Linked DNA regions of Homo sapiens: all the other regions are linked to region 1. The links are contacts of gene promoters, found by promoter capture Hi-C in human tissues and cell types (Jung and others, 2019). All regions are on one chromosome and are shown on one strand. Each heading gives the region's core, a stretch centred on a gene start or on the middle of the fragment in contact. The rest is flanking DNA. Distances are from core to core; before and after follow the strand shown. Region 1 holds the start of OR2M7 (olfactory receptor family 2 subfamily M member 7). Region 2 holds the start of OR2T33 (olfactory receptor family 2 subfamily T member 33). Region 3 has its middle 3.4 kb from the start of OR2T4.

The links. Contacts are between HindIII fragments. The study calls those that stand out against the background at their distance.
Region 2: a fragment that was not itself captured here is called in contact with the fragment with the promoter of OR2M7 in region 1 in 3 of the 25 tissues and cell types used here (neural progenitor cells, ovary and stomach).
Region 3: a fragment that was not itself captured here is called in contact with the fragment with the promoter of OR2M7 in region 1 in 3 of the 25 tissues and cell types used here (aorta, heart left ventricle and thymus).

What each region holds. Positions count from the first base shown.
Region 1 is chr1:248,323,276-248,325,845 of GRCh38, forward strand. OR2M7 (olfactory receptor family 2 subfamily M member 7) reads right to left here and starts at 1,293. Exons shown (of 1, transcript NM_001004691.1): 1 at 355-1,293. The coding sequence starts at 1,293. The coding sequence ends at 355. The HindIII fragment of the contact is 10,500 bases long and covers 1-2,570 here.
Region 2 is chr1:248,277,974-248,280,543 of GRCh38, forward strand. OR2T33 (olfactory receptor family 2 subfamily T member 33) reads right to left here and starts at 3. Exons shown (of 2, transcript NM_001004695.2): 1 at 1-3. The HindIII fragment of the contact is 7,061 bases long and covers 1-2,570 here.
Region 3 is chr1:248,356,969-248,359,538 of GRCh38, forward strand. No RefSeq gene overlaps it. Among named protein-coding and RNA genes, the nearest start is that of OR2T4, 3.4 kb to the right of the region's middle. The HindIII fragment of the contact is 5,419 bases long and covers 1-2,570 here.

The DNA.
Region 1 (2,570 bases), core at 43-2,542:
AAAGACTACACATTAGGTACAGCGAACACTGCTTGGTTGATCGCTGCACTAAAATCTCAGAAATCACCATTAAAGAACTTATTAATGTAACCAAACACTATGTGTTTCCCAAAATGATAATGAAATTTAAAAATAAAAATGGAATGTCTTTATTGAAAATGCCTTATATTGTAGTCATAACTGAATTGAATATTAAAAAATCTAAAATAGTTTATCTGAAATAAATTATACTGGTACCCATCAATATGTTGAGCAATGCACACAATTAGTGATATTTTTAGGACTTAATAGAAAAAGAGAGACAATAAAAAGAAGACGTTAGCAGACAGCAAAACATGAAATTTATGAGGTAACTCAATCTCCAGACTTGCCCTTTCCTAAGATTTTCATTAATGCTCTGGTCACTTCCTTGTTGCGGAGGCTATAAATGAGAGGATTCAGCATGGGAGTGACGATGGTGTAGAATACAGACACCATCTTGTCCTGCATAGGAGAATGATGAGATGTGGGCTGAATGCACATGAACAAACCTGCTCCATAGTACATTCCCACCACCATGAGGTGAGAGGAACAAGTAGTAAAAGCTTTGCGACGTCCCTCTCCAGATCCCATGTGAATGACAGCCAGAATAACTCGAGCATAGGAAGTGATGATGATTGCAACAGGGAAAACAAGCATTACTATACAGCAGATGAAAATAACCTCTTCAAATATTGATGTGTCATTGCATGAGAGGATTAGTAGGGAAGGGAAGTCACAGCAGAAGTGGGCTATTTCCCGAGACCCACAGTAGGAGAAGGAAAATGTCGCTACAGCATCAATGATTCCATCTGTAGAGCCCAGGATCCAGGAGAAGGCAGTCATAAGTCCACAAATTTTGGGTCTCATGAGATTGGTGTATCTTAGAGGGTGGCAAATGGCAGTGTAGCGGTCATAAGACATAACAGCCAACAGAAAGCATTCGGAGCCAAGCAATGATATATAGAAGAAAATTTGTGTGGCACAGCCAGCCATAGAAATGGACTTGCTGCCAGACAAGTAGTTGAAGGCCATCTTGGGTACAGTGGTGCAGATGAGCATGAGGTCCATGAGGGACAGTTGGCTGAGGAGGAAGTACATGGGGGTGTGGAGCTGGGTATCCAGGTAGATGAGGAGAACCATGATGGAGTTTCCCATGAAGGCCACTGAAAAGATGGCCAGGACCAGAAAGAAGAGGAAGGTGTGGGTGGGGCTATGATTGAAGATTCCCAGGAGGAGGAAGTCAGAGTTGAAGGTCTGATTCTCCCATGCCATGATGAATATGCCTGTTACCTAGCACCGCAAAAACAGTTCATTAATTTGATAAACATTTACCCAGTGCCTTATAAAGCATGTGATTATGGTAAATTCTGTAGTTTGGTGATCAATACAGGATGGCCAGAATTATAAAACTCAAAGTTTAAGAATTATGGAATCATAAAGAAATATGTTCTCTCAGCAGTGTCTCACTTATAAAATTATGGAGCTTGTCCTAACTTTTCTTCTAAGCATTCTTTTTCTCCATTGAAAAATTACAATAACAATATCTACTACATGATCAATGGAGTTTTTCCAAAAAGAATATGTCTCCAAAGCAAACAGTTCCTAAAACATCAGAAGCCTGTTACAGGTAAATTGATAGAGAAATTCAGGTTCAGTCACCATGTGACCAACACAATACTAGAAATGGACAATAAATTTGTGCCTTTATTCACATGATAGTAGGCATTTTTCCTACCAGAGTTAAGAAAATGTGTATGTTTACCTATTACTTTACAGTTTAAAGTATTTTATCTATACTTTATAGTAAGTTTTCTATACAGTAAGTGGATTCACTGAAAAGATTTTCAATTATACAAATCTAAGACATATGCTCTTTTTTCTATAGCCCAGTGTGATGCATTGAATTATGTTTCTTCCCCAAAAGATAGCAAGTGAGCTTGTTTAGAAATACATAAAGGGTATAATTAGTTAAGGTGAGGTCAAGTTGGAGCAGAGTGGGTCTCTCTAATTCAATATGACTCATGTTCTGATAAGTGGGTGGCCATGTGAAGACTGAGACACTGAGGATACCATGTGATAGGGGAGGCAGGGATTGGAGTGGTGCATCTACAAATCAAGAAATGCCAAAAACTGTTAGTTATAACAGGAACCTGGGAGAGAGGAATGGGACAGATTCATCCTCTTAGAGCCCTCAGAAGTGTCCAACCCTGCTGACAACTTGATTTCAGATTTCTAGACTCCAAAACTATGAGAGAATAAATTTCTATTGTTTTAGGTAACCTGTTTGTGATTTCTCTGTACTGGCATTCGTAGGAAATTAATACATCCAATATATCCTATAGAAAATAAGTAGATATAAAAACAGAAATTAAGAAAAGCATGAGATTCATCCTTTCAACAACATTTATGAAGCCTGGCTATGTGTTGATCACTGGGGCTACCACAGTGACCAGAATAAAGAAAGCCCGTGTCCATACAGGTCATAGTGAGTGTGATCAGATGATGATTATAAAACACTTTATGTCATAAGAGGATAAACATTTTGGAGA
Region 2 (2,570 bases), core at 1-2,500, 45 kb before region 1:
AAATCACCTTTGGCAAGGGAATACAGATTTCAGTATTTCCTAAGGGTGAATATATGTAGTGAACTAATTTAGCATCCAAGTTTTGGTAAAAGCAAAACGACTGTGATTGGGAAGATGAACAGATATGTCCCTGGCTAAGGATAGCAAGTGCAATGAATTAGTAAAGACAAAATCCAGAATTCTGATCATTGACAATCCCTGAACTGAATAAATATGACTTAATTACCTGAAATAAGTTTTTAATTTTCTGTAATTGTATCATGATAATAATAATATATTTCATTTATTGAACATTTCTACATGCTAGTGAATATGCTCGGCATTTTACATGCATTTACATGCGTGTTATTTAATCTTTTAATTAGCTGTTTGTTCTGTGAACTTCTACATTAATATAGCAATGTAAACAATGCTAACGGTTTTAAATACCATATTTATATTAACTGTCATGAGGTAGCAGAGTGAAAGAACTTTGATGTTCACATCATAGATTTGTGGTTCTTAAAGGTTGAGGAACATCTGAATCATTCAGAATACTTATGGATTACACTTTGAGAAATACTGCCTTTTATAAAAAAATCTGAAGGGGAATTTCAACTATTTTGAACTGGGTCACAATGCTTTGATAGCCTATAAACTAATCAATTCCCAACTTTGCATGTTTAAATGTTTAAATGTTTTTGTGTTTTGTTTTGAATCTAGCTTCTATTCCTTACCCATTTCATGATTTTTGGATAACATGATCTTCATGTTCCTTTCCTATAAAAGATGCATAATAAAATTGCTTGCTTTGTAGCATTATTGAAAGGAATAAATAAAATACTTGTAAACCACCTGGGAGACTATCTGGCCCATAGTATATTCTCTATCCATGTTCATTGATATCATTATTGTGATTGTTCTGAAAGAAAAAAAAATCCCTCTAAGGCAGAGTAATGTTGATTCTGGTCTAAATATTATAAAAACTTATCTAAAAGAAAATAAGATAAGGACAGGGTAGCCTGTTCTTTTGGTGTTTAATAGTTCTGCCCAAAGACTATTTAGTGCTCTGGGTGAATGCTTCTGTGTTTGATTTGCCATTTACCATAAATTACGGTCCAGAATCTGTGACGTTGTTATGTCAAGCAGACATGTAAAGAATTTCTGTCCGTGCCAAGTAAGACATAAACCAGTTTTATAATAATTGGAAACAAAACAAAAATAGCGAAACTTTTTTTTCTTTTGAAATCAAATTCACAGTGTCTTTTCCAATACTACTTCTCCAACTCTCACACCAACTAAGTGTCTTACTATTTAATTTAGTCCTGACACTTACTGCAGTCTGGAGCATCAGACTCCAGATGTCGCAGAAATCAATCCCACAAGACTGCCTTCCCTTCAGACGTCAGTCTCAAGTAGGGGGTATCCAGGTTACTTCTACCTGATTTGGATACAAAGTTGGAGGTTCTCACAACCACTCTGCTTCAGGTTATATAACTGGCTAGAATGAAGCATGAAAATAAAGAAAATGCTACACTCACTATTATAGTTTATTATAAGGGATACAAATGAAGAGTCAGATGAAGAGGTACATCTGGGAAGTTCCAGAAGAATCCCAAGCCCGCGAGCTCCTGTCTGTGGAGTTGGGGTCTGCAATCCTCTGGGCAAGTAAATGTGTTTGCCAACTCAGAAGCTCCCTGAACCCTTTCATTATGGGTTTTATGGTGGTTTCATTATATAGACATTAATGTGGCTATTGGTAATTGACTCAATCTACAGCCCCCACCTCCCCAGAAGTTGGGTAATGGGGCATGAGATGAAGCGGGGACCCCTCTTAGTGACCTGCAAGTTCCTCCAAGTACAGAGATAAAGGAAAAGCTTAAGTTCCTTCAGGGAAATTCCAGGCACCTAGCTAGTACTGAGAAATAAACAAGCAACTTCATAAGTAAGAAGGTAATAATTGCCTAATGCAATAGCCAAGGAAGTTAAAAATCACAGAATGTTTAGTTCCATTATAAAAACTAAAATAACATCTTTCCATATGTTCATGAGTTGTTTTTCAGAAACCTGGAACCCCACTAAATAGATCTACTGGCACATAGACCTCAGATAAGGAGGAACTGAGGACAGAACTCAGACCACCACTTTTTCTTCTGAATTTCTTCCTGAGAGGCCTGGAGGAAGTCACACCCATGGATGAGAGCTAAAATTCTTTTCTGCTGATTCCAATTTTTTAGACAAAACTTTGCCTCGTTAACCAATCACAAATCAGAAAATGTTTGACTCTACCTAAGATGTGTGGGCCCTGACTTTGAGATGTCCCATATTTTCAGGTTAAGCCCATATATAATGTCAATATACTGATTTATGACTTTGCCTGTAACCTCTGTCTCCCTGCCTTTAAAAACTTACCTGTAAGCCATCCATCAGAGAGTTCAGATCTTAAGCATTAGCTGCCCACTTCTCCTTGCTTGGCCCCCTGTAATAAATTCCTCCTTTTCTTTTGCGGCAATCTGCATGTCGGCATTTGACTTTGCTGTATCAGGCAGGCTGACTTGAGTTTCGTTTGGTAACATCTCTGTGGACTTGGG
Region 3 (2,570 bases), core at 47-2,546, 34 kb after region 1:
AACCTAAATAACCACTATTTGGATTTTAATTGTGGTATAATTAATTTGATAGGATATCAATGTCTAGTCACATATATACACTTAACCTATTTTAAATAGAATAGATTTAATGTACAAAAGTGGTTACAGGGTGGCACAAAGGGCTGGAGGGAAGGCTGATGCAGCAAGGAGCCGAGTGTTATCACTCACAGACCAGGAGTTGTCACCAGTGGCGCCTCATATGCTCCTCAGTGCTGAGCTGATGGAGACCGCACGCCCAGGGCTGCTTGTGTGACTTTCCCATGCTGATATGCGGCAACTTAGATGCCCTGCATCCCCACAAATGCAGCTGAAACTGACTGTAAGCCCACAACTCCCTCAGGACCCCTGCTGCCTGCAGTTGCTGCTGCTGCCGCCACAGATCATCACCAGAAGCAGGAAATAAGACACAGTTTCCTTCTTTCTCCTGCTCTCCAGTGTTCCACCAGGGCCTGCCCTCTCATAGCCTTACAGGAAACCAGGTAGCACAGGAGTCAGGACAAGCTCTCTGCGGGCTGAAGCCCTAGAAGTCAGCGGAGACACCAGCCCTAAAGTGTGGGCCCAACAAACAGAAGACAGACACCATCTGGACAAACGTTTTCATGAAAAGACTTCCGTGACATGGTAACATGATCAACATCATTCTAGAACACACGCACAGAAAACGGTTCAGAAATACTTGTCTGCAAGATCCAAGAGGGTGGAGTTGCTTCCACCTAGTTACCTATTTTATTCCAACTGTCTGCTACATGGTGTACACTTCATAAATATTCATAGTATGAAGTCAAGACATGAATTTTAAAGTTTTGTTTCTATCTGAACTATTACATTATGGTTGATTTTTAAATTTTATTTGTACTAGACTGTGATTTTAGATTTTTTAGTCATATCAATATTTAAAATAAAAACAAACTTTAAAATTAAATGCATCACTAAAGTAACAGAGCTTGCAGGTGAATAACAGAAGAAAGAACATAACAAGCTAATGAAGAGTGATAGCAATGAAGATGTGAAAAAGACAACCTCAATTTTAGTATGGAGTTCATTACTGATCAGCGATACTCTCTTTGACACATCAACTGAACTCTGAGTTTCAAAGCCTATATTTGTGAAAGATTGGAACACAAATAGCAATATTTTATAAAAATTTCCTAAAGTTTAAAGGAGGAGGCACATACACATGAAAATATTGTGTAAAACACAAAAGGCCATATATAACTAACTCATATATCATAGGTAAAAATTCATTAGTAATGGCTAACTTTGAGATTATTGTTAATATTTGTTGAGATTTTCAGTTTAACAATAAAAGAAGATTAAATAACAACAACAAAACAGCTGGGCACAGTGGTGTGTGTCTGTAGTACCAGCTATTCAGGAGAGTGATGTGGAGGGGGTTCACTTGAGGCCAGGAGGTCGAGGCCTTTGTGCACTGTGATCTCACCTGTAAAAATCTACTGCACTCCAGCCTGGGCAACATAGTAAGATTCTGTCGCTTAAAAAAAAATGAGAAGAAAATCAGAAAAGGGCAACAGAGATATCTATTAGCTTCTTTAGCTCCTTTATTTGCATTCGTCTTCAAAACCCCAGAGAGGACTTATTAACAGAAAACTTTTATCTACACCCCTAATGGACACAGTGAAGCCAGGGATGATGTCACTTTTGTTTTTCTTTGCACACTTAAGCCAGCCACACACCATGAGCCCCTCCAAATGAGGGTCAAGACATCATCTGATGGTGAGTTACACCAGATAGGTAGACAGTATTGCAGGAACAAAAGATGGTCACGGTTCTTGACTTGTTCTGCTTTTGAAACATTTCTATTAGTTCTTGACTGTATTTCCTCATTTCCCTCTATCATCTATTTTTATGGAGAAAAGCCAATCTGTTTTATTTTTCCTTTGAGTCTCATTTTATATAATACTTATTTACTGCAACATATTAGTAAACGGGTTTTTCATTTCCAAAGTATTTATGGACAAAATCATATATATTCTTCCTCTGTTATTGAATGATACATTTGTTTTAGTGGGATGAAAATTTTGCAGAGGAAAAACAACTAATTTTTCTTTGAATGGAAATTAGGTCTTAGAGTTAGAAAACACTAGCAACAAATGTTTCAATCATATTTATGTTTCCCTGGTGAAACCAATAGTGAGTTATCTAAAACCCAAATTTTAGTCTACGGAAGCAGGACTGTGTCCCCAAGAGAACTGAGGTAAGTGACATGCTCTGGGTCCCGCACCTGCACCGATGTACTTACTCCATGGGGTTAGCTGTGTGATGTTAGATAGATACCCCAGAACTTGAACTTTTAAATCTGTAAATGGTGAAATTAGATTATATACCTCATAGGTTCTTGAGGAAAATTAAATGTGGTAAACTGGCATTAAGAACAATTCCTAGGATACTGTAAGCTTCACATAAATGCTCAATATTGCCCTACCACCACTATTAATTATTCCCTGGGTTAAACATGCATTGTGCTGTTTGGAAACTCAAGCAATGTGATCAAGAAAAATAAAAGAAAGAAAAAGTCCAGTTGTGCTGCA